Regions from separate parts of the Homo sapiens genome. Here region 1 is linked to region 2. Evidence: promoter capture Hi-C in 16 types of primary human blood cells and fetal thymus (Javierre and others, 2016). All regions are on one chromosome and are shown on one strand. Each heading gives the region's core, a stretch centred on a gene start or on the middle of the fragment in contact. The rest is flanking DNA. Distances are from core to core; before and after follow the strand shown.

What was found. The method cuts DNA at HindIII sites, captures the fragments that hold promoters and counts their contacts. A CHiCAGO score of 5 or more calls a contact.
Region 1: a contact is called between a fragment that was not itself captured here and the fragment with the promoter of CSMD2 in region 2, in 1 of 17 cell types (M1 macrophages). The highest score is 5.2, in M1 macrophages.

The regions. Positions count from the first base shown.
Region 1 is chr1:34,689,694-34,696,360 of GRCh38, reverse strand. No RefSeq gene overlaps it. Among named protein-coding and RNA genes, the nearest start is that of MIR552, 23 kb to the right of the region's middle. The HindIII fragment of the contact is 1,625 bases long and covers 4,326-5,950 here.
Region 2 is chr1:34,159,661-34,166,519 of GRCh38, reverse strand. CSMD2 (CUB and Sushi multiple domains 2) reads left to right here and starts at 1,290. Exons shown (of 71, transcript NM_001281956.2): 1 at 1,290-1,609. The coding sequence starts at 1,423. RefSeq lists enhancers at 2,780-2,839, 3,260-3,389. The HindIII fragment of the contact is 6,831 bases long and covers 1-3,612 here.

The sequences.
Region 1 (6,667 bases), core at 3,889-6,388, 530 kb before region 2:
CATGTTTCAGGAATAGACAAAAGTCAAGGTGACTGGAGCAGTGTGAGCCGGGGGAGAGGAGTGGCTGATGGGGTGAGAGTAGACAGGGCCGGGTTGCATGGTGTCCCCTTTGCTGGCCATGGTAAAGAGTTTGGATTTTGTTCTAAGCGTGATAATCTTTCATCTTGGAGCACTGACTTTTCACAGATAAAGAAACTGAGTCACAAGGAGGTGGAGATAACTTGCCCAAGAAGGAAGGTCGTGCATGGTGGGACTCTCTGGAACCAATCCTTGCTTTCTTTCTTCCACATCTTTCTTCCTCTAGTTAGCTGTGAAAAAATTAGGAGGGGGCAAGGAAAGAAAGTGGGCAGCAGCCTCATGACCTGTCCTTCCTCTGTAAAGTAGGACAGATGGTCTTCAGAGAGGGAGGGGCAGCGGTGGGTCAGTGAGACTGGCAGAGGGTGGAAAGGGTTGGCACAACTGTGGAGCAGAATGGGAAATGGACAAGTCCGGGAGTGAACAGGAGGATTGGAGGGCAGAGGAGAGCCTAGCCAAAGCTGGAGACCGCGAATCTGTAATGGAGTGGATCAGCACAGTTATTTGATTTTCTCCAGCAGTACTTGGCAGGCAGCCAGCCTGGGACAGGGGCAGAGAGGAAGGAGGGATCTGTGAATAAAGGTGGGGATTGGGACCGCAGGTTCAGGGGCAGTGGAGGGTGCTGGTGGGGATGTGGTGGAAATGACATATACACATGCGCAAGCATATGTTTTGGTGTTTTCTAGGACAGGCGCAATAAAATGTTAATTAATTTTCAACAAAGGTGGTTATTTACAGTTTTAATTCATTGAGGTTTCAGTTTTATACATGTATAAGATCTTGCTGACAGATAACATCACTGTCATGAGCTGAGCTGTGCCCACCCCACCAAATTCATATGCTGAAATCCTAACCCTCAGTACTCAGAATGTAACAGTATTTGGGGATAGGACCTTTAAAGAGGAGATTAAGTTAAAATGAGGCCATTAGAGCAGGCCCTAATCCCATCTACTTGACGTCCTCATAAAAAGAAATTTGGAGGCAAAGAGACACCAGGGGTGGCGTGCACAGATGGATGACCGTGTATATGAAAAGGGCGGCAAGAGGGTGGCCATCTGCAACCAGTGAGAGAGGCCTTGGAGGAGACCAACCCTGCCGACACCTTGATCTTGGACTTCCAGCCTCCAGAACTGTGAGGAGTAAATTCTTGTTGTTTAAGCCACTTAGTCTGTGGCATTTTGTTATGGCAGCACCGGCAAACTAATACAATCACGGATCAGAACGTTTTCCTTGGGTCAGACTGTGTCCTAACTCAGCCTGCTCAGCCCTGCCTGATCCAGCCCATGCCAACCTTTCCATCCTCACTGTCCTTGCTCCCCTGACTTCTCTCATGCTCAGTGTTCCAGCCACACTGCCTTGAAATGTCCTTCTTGTCTCAGGGTCTTCCCACATTCTGTTCCCTCTGCCTAGAACATCTTTCCTCTCTTTTTTTCGTCTAGATAACTCCTTATTCTTTGGATTTCCACTCAAATGTACCCATTTTTTATTAGGGAAGCTTTCTGTGACCATCAAACATTCCCCTCATCCCCGGCCACCAACTAGAGCAATCCTTCTTTGACATGTTGTCTTTGTTGTTCCTTCTGGGACAGATTCCAGGACAGGGACCTGTGTGCATGGAACCGACACCCACAGGGTATGAGGTGGGAGTGAGAATGAGCAGGTGGAGTGGTAGAGCTGTGATAATGTCATAATCAAGGCCAACATCAATTCCTTAAGGAGCTGTGGAGCTGGGACCACCCAGTAGCTTTCCCGTGACTGCATTTACTGGTCATTGGCAATGACATACCCCAGGGATGGGGCTTGGTCTTTGCAAGGTGGCTGTTAAGGGCTGAGGGCAATTCTTGAGGAAGACTCAAGTGAGAGCTGCCAGCATCCAATACCCTTGGCAGTTGGGAATAAGTGTCTCAGCCCTGAAGGGAGGATTGGGGGGCACACCACAGCACCCACTACCTATGCTCCCACCTTTCCTTCAGAACACTTGGCGCCAGTTGTAAGTAGATATTTCTGTGATTAGTTCACTAATTTTCGTTTCCCACTAGATTTAGAGCAGAGAGGAGTTCCTTGACAGTAAAAGCGTCAACCCACAGGGCATAGAGGAAGGAGGTGGGATGGGTGGATATATGCGGAGAAGATAGTTGGACCAGGGAATGGAAGAGCAGGGACCTCAGGAAAATCTAGGAGAAAATGCTTGTGTGGCTAGAATGACTTGACATTGGTTATTATTGTAGGAAAAAAGGGAACCGAGTGAGAGGGGAATGTTAGTTCATTTGCCACCTGCTATGTCCCAGGCACTTCCCTGTTTAATCCTTATGACAACCCTGGGACTAAGGATTGTTGCAGCTTGAAAAGGGTTGATGAGAGGTTGGGCATTTCTAAGAGGAGGCTGATAGGTTGGCTGCTAAGAGGCCTTTGAGCCTGGCATCAACTTTGTGAATTTATTGCAGAATAAATATGGCCAACTTCTGGCTCCTTGGGCTCCCCTTGTCTCTGCTCCAGGCTAGGCATGTTCTCTCTGTTCACGCAGTCTTTTGTCAACTGATTTAGTTAATTAGGTTTCTGCTTACTCAATTACCATCACCCCCTCCCAAAGTCTTGCCTCCCCGTGACCATACCCAGGCCACCATGATTGGCTTTTGGGGTCTTCCCAAACTCTGTTCAGTCACATTTTCAGGTCATCTCTTGGTTTGTGCCAACAGACAACATATTTCATCATTCTGCGTGGATTTTACTAACCTCTTTCTCAGAGGGCAGCCTTGCTTCTCGGTCCCACGCTCACTTCCACATGTGGCTGTCAGGTATTGCTTCTGTAGCTTTGACAGTGAGGGGCTGAAGCTCAGAGAGGTTAAGTCACTGGCCCAGGAGAGCTGAGATTTGGTGGCAGGTCCTCTGACTTCCAAGGCAGAGTGAAGGGATGGATAAAGGACAGGAGGGTCACAGGTCAGAGGTGCACAGCCTCAGGTTCCATGGGGAGTTCTGGGCATAGATTGCTTTGTGATCTTGTACTTAGGGTCTCCCAAGGCTTGGTAGAGACAGTTGTAGCCAGTTCAGCCAAGAGCCACTGGATCCTTGGAGCCACATCTGTGTTGGCCGGAGCTGAGCCTGTGCTCCAGGGATCTCTCAGAGCTGAGCCTACTATGGTGGCCGCAATGGGAGCTGACTAGTGCTGCTGCCTGTGGTTGGGTAAGTTGAGTCTGGGGGGTGATTGGGGTTAAAAACCAGCTCACTTATACTCTCCAACCTTTGCAGCCTGGTTTGGGGCTGCCAAAGCCTAGAAGAAGGAGCAGCTTCTCCCTTCCAGACGAGGCAGCATTTTGTAATTTTACCACCTTGTGGGGGAGGCTTTTTCTAATTCCTGCAAAGTCCAGCCTGAAAGTCAGCTGAGTGGGTTGTGCCCAGCACTCCGTGAGCTCTGCAGACCTCTCATATGCCCCTAGATTTCTGGAAAGCCCTCTAGGCAGCCAGTACAAGGTCAAACACTTCTGTGCAGCGAATCCCTGCAGGGGGATTTGTTCCGGGAAGGGAATTACATTTCAATTTGATTTAATTCAATGAGAATGACACCAAATTGATCAGCTGGTAAAATGCCATTTGACGGGCAGATGTGCTCTTTCCAAGTCAATAGGAACCACCAGAAAAGTCAGTCTTGTTTTTTCAGACAGAACTGAAAGTTTTACCCATTTTCTTTGCCTTTTAAAAAGGGCTCAAATTCCCTGAAGGTGGAGAGACTTTTCCTGATAGGCCTGTTGACCTGAGCAAAGTGATTAAACCACCAGGCACCCAGGGAACACGAAACAAGTTCTATATCTGTTTTTTCATTTTTGTTTTTAATTAAAGGCTCCCTAAAGCCTAGGAGCTCTCCAGCTGTGGTTCCTTGCCCCTTTCTATATGCCAGCTTATTTTCTGGGGTGTAAGCAGACATTTGGGTACTTGACCATGTCCCCTGCAGGAGTTCGCAGAAACCATCTGGTCACCTCTGTTGACCTAGAAGGGTGCAGCGGTCCAGACTTCTGTGCACTTTGTACCAGACTCTTGTATGATCTTGAGAAATTTCTCAGATTCTTTGAGCCTTAGTTCTGTCATCTGTAAAATGGGCATGCAGTCTCCCTTCGTCCATCTCTGGGCTACTCCCTTTGGAGTAGTAACATGAAAAATAGCTATGGCCCCACAATAACCACTGCCATTGTTCCACACACCACAGTCACTAGCATTATTTTTGAGCAGTTACCATGGGGTGGGCACTATTGAAAGCTTCATCTGCATTAAATCGCATAATCCTTGTAACAATTCCATCAGGTAGATACAGTCTGTTTGGCTACGGTGCTTATTTTGAAAATGCAAATTTGTTTCAATGCGATCCATGTGTCAGGAAACTATTTGAGCATCATGTTAGTTTTGCATTTGCTTATGTCTGATTTGGTGTGTGAGAAACACAAGGTGAGTGCAGAAAATTGCACCCAGTTGAACTGAGCTGTGTAGGAATATACATAACACACACATGGACACACTTCAAACATCTCCCAGCATTCTCAGTTCCTGTGTGTTATGGCCACTCACAGGATGCTACAACCTTCCTTCTGACTCCAGATCTACCTCCTCCCACCACCTGACAGTAATTCTGAAGCTCGCTTCCACATACAGAGTGAAGTGTGTGTAGCGTCATGCTTATTGTAGTGTCTATGTATGTCTTTTATGGCATTTAACATGTGTAAAACCGTGTTACCCTTTTTATTAGGTTTCTTTTATTTTTCGTGTGTCGCCGAAGGAAGTTTATGAGCATTGTACCCCAACTCCATTGTTCTCATGAACCCTGTGGTTTTTGCACAGTGTGGTGATTCTTTGTTTTATTTTATTTTATTTTTTTCTAAATTGTGATAAAAAGACACAGCATAAAAATTTTCACTGTGATTTTTTTTTTTTTTTTTTGACAGAGTCTTGCTCTGTCGCCCAAGCTGGAGTGCATTGGCATGATCTCAGCTCACTGCAACTTCAGCCTCTTCGGTTCAAGCAATTATCCTGCCTCATCCTCCTGGGTGGCTGGGATTACAGGCATGTGCCACTGTGCCCGGCTAATTTTTGCATTTTTAGTAGAGATGGGGTTTTACCATGTTGGCCAGGCTGGTCCCGAACTCTTGACCTCAGGTGATCCACTTGCCTTGGCCTCCCAAAGTGCTGGGATTATAGGCATGAGCCACCATGCCCAGCCCAATGTGTCCATTTTAAAATATACAGCTCAGTGGTACTAAGGACATTCATATTGTGGTGCTACTGTCACCACCATCCATCCACAGAATTATTTTCATCTTAAAAAAACTGAACTTCTATACCCAGTTCACAACTCCCCACTTCTCTTCTCCCCTGCTCCTGGCAACCACCATTCTACTTCCAGTCTCTAGAAATTTGACTACTCTATAAGTGGAATCATACGGTATATGTCCTTTTGTGACTGTTTTATTTCACTTAGCATAATGTCCTCAAAGTTCACGCATGTTGTAGCATGGGTCAGAATTTCCTTCTTTTTTAAGGCTGAATAATCTTCCATTGTGTGTATATACTACACTTTGTTTATCCATAGCGGGTGACTTTTAGGAACACTTACGAGGCATGACAGCAGAGCTATCCTGTTATTTTTCTGTTTTGCACATGACGAAACAGGCACAGAGTGGTTAAGTGACTTCCCCGAGGTTTCCCCACTAATAAATGGGAGATGTGAGATTCAAGCCCAGGCCTTGCTCATTCTGCAGCTTGTGCCTCTGACACTGTGTCACCTCAAATGCTGTGTTACCTGCTTCCTTTTTTTTCACGTTATTGTCATCAAACCAGACGATGTTGACTTTGAGTCAGCTTGGTTATTAATTTCCTGTTGTTAACAGAAGCTTTAGTGTCTGAAATCTCTGCTGCACCATCTGGAATTTTTAATAAAAACTCAAGGAATTTCCAGGGGTTTCTGTGTATTGCATATGTGTATTAGCCAGGGAAAAATGCTATTTAAAAATAGAAATGCCTACAGCCACTTTTAAACTCCAGGTGTGGGGCGAGGAGGTGCCCAACAGAAGGAAGGCTGCTCTTTTGTTTAAAAAAAAAAACAAAAACACTATAGTCAGGCTTTTTGGATTATTCAAGGGAAGGCTCACTCCCTACCTCCACCTCGAATTGTCTGGAAAGGGGAGGCTCTAAACTAAATTGCTCTACAGAACAAGCTAGCAGGAATTCCCGAACAGTTCACTGGCAGCTCAAAAGGGAGGGAGTTTTCAGGGTCTTGTAACAGTCAGGAAAAGAGGAGATTAAATAATGTTCATGGTAGAGAAATTAAGTGCCTCTGAACAGGGCAGCAGTCTGGGGCTCCAGAAGAGTGATAAGACAGATGGGTACACAGTCATAGTAATAAAGAATACTATGGGAAGTATCCTTTGTTGAGGTGGTTAAAGAACTCTTTGATGGTGACAATTTTAAATGTTTTCAGCTGTGTGCTATTTTATACCCTCCTTCACCCTTAACGTAGTCAGCTACAGAGAGCAGGCAGGCTTGGGTTAGTGACACCTTAGTGCAGGAAGGTGGATGGAATGGGTTCCTGAGAAGGAGCAATTGTAGGGAA
Region 2 (6,859 bases), core at 41-2,540:
CCGTTTTGGCCAAATCAGGCTGCCCTAAGCCCGGAGCACAGCTTCTCTGGGGTGTGTCGGCAAAGGGGGCGGGGGTGCCCATCGCAGGTGCCTTTCCACTGCACGCGCCAGCAGAAGCCTCCTCTCTGGACCTTGCCCCTCCCAGTTTCCTCCAGCCTCCCCCCATGAAGCGTCTCTTCCCTCTCGCCGAGAGTTTGGCGTAGACAGCGAAGGAGCCATCGTGACTGGCGGAGAAGCCTGGAGTAGACGAGACAGAGACGGCGACCGAGTCGGGTGGGGGATGGGGTGGGGACCGACACTAAGCCCTTGGGGCCTAGAGGCAGCCGCTACTGGGGAGAGGTGGGGAGCAGCTCACGTCCTTGGGAAGAACTCTCTTGGTTTGGGGCCTTGGCTGGGAGGAGGAAGGGGAGAAGAAGAAGTAGGATCCGATTATTTAAATTTGGGGATAAATTGTACTAGTAACTCTTGCACCGTCCTTCCACCAACCTCACTCCCCACCCCCAACTCGCGTGCACACAGGGACCGCCTCTGCCACCCTGAGATTTTTGTCTTAGGGTAGGAGTGGGACCGCACTGGGTCAAATGAACCGGTTCCCCCCCCTCCCCACCCCACACACAACCCCCCTCCACCGCCCTCCAATTCTTAACCCTGCCTCTGTCTACGCACACACGCCCCTCTCCTGGGATGGGGTAGGAGGCTATTGTGAATGAGGCTCATAAGCATCGCCCCCGGCCCTAGATGGCAAGTTCAAAGCCACCACCCAAGATCAGCTGGTAAGAGCCAAGACTTGGGGAACGCGTCCTTCTTTGGTTACCTTTTCCCAGACAGGATTCCAATTTCCAAACGTGGAAGAGGTGTGCGTGTATGTGCCTGTGTGTGTGAGTGCGTGTGTCTCTGTCACTGTGTGTGTGTGTGTGTGTTTGTGTGTGTGTGTGTGGAGAGGGGGGTGTATTAATGGGTGATGTTATAAATGAAAACAGGAGGACTGAACTTAAAAGAAACTGGTCAATTGCAAAACAGACACGGATAAACAACCCTTTAGATGTAATTTGTGGTTTATCTGGAGGTGGAGGTGGCGCTGAAGAGGAACCCCCGCCCCCCAATATTTTATCCTTAGCTGCGCCTCCACCCCCAGCATTTGGAGCGGCGGAGAAGCGGCTCCGGAGTGATTAATCCGGGGATAATTCACCCCCTCCCGCCCCCCGGCGCGAACCCCGCGAAGCGGGATTGGAGCGAGTCATTTCCGAGAGCGCAGCGCGCCTCTCCCCGGCCGGGCGGACACTTGGTTCATTCCAGCCGCAGAAGCTCAGGGCTCCCGCGTACCGGGATTTTTTCCGAGCAGAAAAAAGCTCCAGAGCTCTCCTGACCTCCTTTCTCCTCGGCGGCGAGCGGAGCCTCTCCCTCGGCGCTGCCGGCCGCGCCATGCCGCGCTCGCGGGGACGGGAGCTGGGGCGCTGCGGCTGCCCCGCGGGGAGGGCTCGCGGCGAAACCGGGATTTCGGCGCTTGTGCCGGGCGCCGGGAGCCGCTGGGGCCGCCCGCCGCCGCCAACGCCGCCGCCTCTGCTGCTGTTGCTGGGCTGTGGGTTGCTCAGCGTCTCGGCCGCCGCGGGTGAGTCCAGCCGCGCCGAGGAGCCAGCGGCCGCCGCGCGCCCCACCCGAGCCCCGAGCCCACCCATCCTCGACCCGGTCCCAGTCCCTCCCCCCGCCTCTATCCCTGCCTGAATCTCCCACCCTCCCAGTTGCCTACTCTCATTCTCATCCCTGCCTCCGTCTCCCACCCCACCCTCAGCCACGTCCTCACCTCCACCCTCACCCTCACTGCTGCCCCAACCCCAGCCGCAACTTGGACGGATGCGGCCGGTGTGGGGGCCTGGGAGACAGACATCCCCGCCCGGGGTTGCGGGGCACCTGGTCTGTGGCTTCAGTTTCTCCAGCCTCCCAGCCCCCACGGTGCTAGGCTTTTTCCCGATAAACTTTCCGGGAGCCCTACTCCCCCGGCTCCTGATTCTGCCAGGCACGCTGGTCCTGGGGGCTGGAGAGGAACCGTGCGCCCCCTCCCCATTTCTGCGTCTGCAAGGTCTGCCCTTCCCTGCCCCCGCCCATTTTCTCCAATTGAAACCGGTGCCCCCTCTGGAACCGACTGCAGACTGCGGCCGCCATCCCCCTCCTCAAATGCTACCCCTCCCTCGGCGCTCGGAGCTAGGAGGGGGTTCAGGTGGACGCGTGCCCACGGTGGGGGTCCCGCGCATTCCTTGCAGGAGGGTGCAGGTGGGGGCTGGAGGGTGTTGAGGGATGGGAAGGAGGGGGTGGGGGTTGTAGCCCGAGGCGGGGGAGGGAGTGCCGCCGCCAGGCTTCGCGCTGCCACATTCCCCTCGGTGCTCACTCCGCGCCAAAGTGCCCTTTCCCGCGCCCTGCTGCAGCCGAGCGCCTCGGCTGCGGCAGCGGCAGCGGCGGCGCGGGCGGCGGGACCAGCTCCCGACGACCGAGTCCGGGAAGGGGCAGATCTAGCGGGTGCGGAGAGTCCCGGAACTTCGCGGGTGTCTGGCTGCAGCTTGCAGCGCGCGGGGGAGGTACGCGAACCTTCGAGGGAACCCGGTCCCCTGTGGAGGCTACTGGCCGCGACTGGTGCCCTCCCGCTTTACCCACAGCACCCCTCCGAAGCTCAGTTCTAGCTACAAGCTAGAAAGTTCCGTGTGCCCGGGTGGAGACGGGTCCAAACCGGGATGCCTGGAACCGCATTTTCATTTAGCCCGCGAGGCTGACACCCACTGGGGGAGAAACCGAAACACCTGCTGGCCAGGCCTAGACCTAGGGCACCTTCGACCTGGAGCCGTGTTTTCTTTTTTGTTTTTGTTTTTGTTTTGTTTTGTTTTGTTTTGAAACCACCGATTGAACCTCTGAAGGCTTGGCCTGGACCACCCCAGTTCCCCTTCTTGGGAAAGTGCGCCTCTCCTCTGGCAGGTCAGTGAGTGGCGAGCTCTCTGGCCCACTCTGGCCTTCAGCGTCTTGTGAGTCTGTCCTCGCAGACCGTGTCGCCCACCGCTTAACCGCGGCATGTTGGGGTTCTTGGTCAGGGAGGGCGCCCCGAGCCAGCTCTGGCTCTCTCATTCCTAGCTGACGGGACTTTCTTAGGTTCTGCTAAGAGTCATAGCCACCGACACCCAGAGAGGGGCGCCCGCGGTGCGCGCGCCTGGGAGCTCTGGCCTCTCGCACACCCACACCCACTGGGAGGCTGTGCATACCGACGCTGCTGGTCACCCAGACTTGCCACATGGGCGGTGGGGGAATCGCTGCTACCTCCCGCCAGGCCTCCCGGACGTACGTTGAGGCGAGGCCGGTCTCTGGCTTAGCTGATTGGAGAATGTCTCGGCATCGGACTGAATTGTTTTTCTGGCTAGATTTGTCCCTGCCCCTTGGGCATATCCTGCCCCTAGGGGAGAGAAAAAGGCCGACTCACCGGCGCTTGCACCGCTCAGCGGTGCTGGAATCCTGCCCTATAGAGATCCATTTGCTCGCAGCTCCTTGCTCAGTAGAGAAGTTGCGGGGAGGGGGCCTTGTGTTCATGGCTTGGGGTAGTTCCTCTCCGGCAGGCCCTGCTCTGGCTTGCAAGCTTCCAGTACATTTCTTTTCTTTTCTTCTCTTTCTTTTTAAATTTTTTTTAAGACGGAGTTTTGCTCTTCTCGCCCAGGCTGGAGTGCAATGGCGCGGTCTCAGCTCACTGCAACCTCCGCCTCCTGGGTTCAAGCGATTCTCCTGCCTCAGTCTTCCGAGTAGCTGGGATTACAGGCGACCGTCACCACGCCCGGTTAATTTTTGTATTTTTAGGAGAGATGGGGTTTCACCATGTTGGCCAGGCTGGTCTCGAGCTCCTGACTTCAGGTGATCCGCCTGCCTCTGCCTCCCAAAGTGCTGGGCTTACAGATGTGAGCCACCGCGCCCAGCCCAGTACATTTCTTTTTAAGCCTTTCCCGCCTTTAGATGGGCTGTTTGGCCTTGCAGGCAGCAGAGATTTGGAAATGGACTTGGTGACAGAAGATCGGCAGGATTTGGTACATTAGAAGGGGAAACACATTCATTTTGTGTTCAGTTCACACTGTTGAATTTAAAAGATGCTCAGGACTGAACCGTCTCCCTTCCTCGGCTCAGTGATCACTGGATAAATGAATAAAATAGTTTGAAAAAGGGGAGTCTCCTCACCCACCCATACCTTCTCCCCTCAACCCCTTTAGTCCTTGTCCTGCCTTGCACTCCCCCTCCCCCTCCCCACCCCAGCCTCCCTGGAGACTTCCCACCAATTACCTGCTGTCCCTATCAATCATCCTCCCTTTTTTTTTTTTTTTTTTTTGAGAGGGAGTTTCACTCTTTTGTTGTCCAGGCTGGAGTGCAATGGCGCAATCTCGGCTTGCTGCAACCTCTGCCTCCCGGGTTCAAGTGATTCTCCTGCCTCAGCCTCCTGAGTAGCTGTGATTACAGGCGCATGCCACCATGCCCAGCTAATTTTGTATTTTTAATAGAGAAGGGGGGTTTCTCCATGTTGGTCAGGCTGGTCTCGAACTCCTGACCTCATGATCTGCCCACCTTGCCCTCCCAAAGTGCTGGGATTACAGGCGTGATCCACCGCACCTGGCCACCCTCCCTTCTTAAAACACATTTCCCTTTGACCTGTGAACAGGCTCATCTTTACCACAAAACAAGCCAAGAAGCCTTCTTGGCCCTATTGACCTATCTAAGCCACTGCCCCATCTCTTTTTGTCTTTTAGTCACTTCTCTTCAAAGGGGTCTTCATGTCAGTTTTCTCTACTACCCGTCACTCCTTACTTCAACCTCTGTCTCCAGGATGACACTGGAACACTCTAGAAGAGAGCACCAATGACCACCTCAATTGCCAAATACATTGTACTTTATCTTTATTTTCTTTTATCTCTCTGTGGCTGTGGCCACTTTGGATGAATTTCTCTTCCTTGGGCTTCTGGGACACTATGTTTTACTGATTTTTCTCCTATCTCTTGCGTGTTCCTTCTCAGTCTCTAATACTAACACTTATTCCCCTCCCTGAAGTATAGTGTCCTGCAGCATTTAATTCTTTGTACTTTTTCCCATTCCTTTTCACCACTCTCTGGGTGAGCTCATCCTTGCCCAACCCTTTCACTACCACACTCTGAAGCTTCCAGACAGATCTCTTCTGCCAAGACATCTCTCCTGAAATTCATCTATTGGCTTCCTGGTCCATGGGAATTCTGGGTCTAGGTAACCCATGTATCCAGCTGATCCTTGGACATCTTCACTTAGATATTTCCCTTCCAGAGCAATCTTATTAGCTTCTTTCTTAAGCCTCCCGTATTTCCTTTGTGAGCTGGTGGTTCCTGTAGCCTCCCAGTTATGGAGCCCAGAAACCTTTGGATTATCCTCAACTCCTTCCTTATCATATGGTCATCAAATTCTGTCAGTTTCATATCCTCAATTATTCTCGAACCTAGCTACTTTCCTTGAGGAGCTCTGAGCATTGAAAAAGCTATCATGCCTTCCACTCCCTTACTAACTAATTTTTAAAAAGCAATATTAAACTATAAGTAGATAGTTTAAGTAGATGGAATTCTGACAAAGTTCTGATTTTTCCCGTGCCAATTACATCATGGCTTTAAAAAAATCAAATGCCAAATTAAAAAAATTTCCCCTGCTTTGTATGTTGTCTGAGTGCTTGCTTTTAGTCAGCCTCTTGTAGACTAGAGCACTGACTGTACTCAATGTTCTACTGTAGTACAAACTGAATTGTATTAAAAAGCATTTATTTGTCTGCCTTATATATTAAAATGTGAGCTTACTGAAGGCAGGGATGGTGCTTTATTTCTCTTGGTATCCCCATATCCAGCTCAGGTTCTGGCATAGAATTGGTGCTTGATGTATGGCTGTTTGATCAGATGATTTTTACAGTTTTCTTTTTCTTGGAGAGTTTTCCAAGGACTGATAAGACTAAATCGGGGGTCAAGGAAGCCAGCTGGTTTGCAGAGGTAATAAGATGACAAAGACATCTGGTCCCCTGTTCCTTTCCCCACAACTAAGTATCACCGTTTGGTTACAGTTCCCTAGGTTCTAGAACCAATGCAACAATAAGCCCTTGGCATACCACTCTCCTCCAACCCTGAGCCAAGGAAAGGCGTTTCACTACTCAGTCACCAGTGTGTGTATGAATTTGAATTTCCATTTGCAATCAAGCTGAGGGTTTATGGTTTTTAAAAAATGAGCTGACTGCAGCGGAGAGTGCCCACCATATCTAGGGCTGGTGAGTGTGTGGCTTTGTTGAAGGTGAGATTAGAATCATGCACCAGGGACTGGAGGACCAAATTGCAGGGTCTTGGACACTGCCTGGTTTGGGTTTCTCCGGCAGAGCCCAGCAGGCAGCTTCAGCAGCACCCCCTTCACCCTCATTCATGTGCCTGACCTGCCTGTTTCACCCTCATCATCACGCCAGCAGGATTAAGGGAACCTGATTGCTCCGCAGAGCCTTGCTGGAGACCCAGCTGATCTTCAGGCCTCTCTAGGGCTCAGTCTCCCTGCTGTAAAAAGGACAAGTAATTCCTGAGTTTTTGGAAGGATTAGAAACCAGAGATGCAACGAGTCCAGTGCCATACCTCATCGAATGTGCCTATTAAATAGAAGCTGGGGCCAAAGGAATCAGCCAGGAAGTCTATGTGCCCTCACCATGTCCTTCCCCACCTACCATGCTCAGAGAGCTGTTCTGGACACCCAGGGGAGTTATAATAACAGCTCATATTCACTGAGTACTCACCGGCACTGTCTTAAGCACTTGGATGTATTAACTCAATCCTCTCAGCAACCCAGTGAAGCCTGCAGTATTATT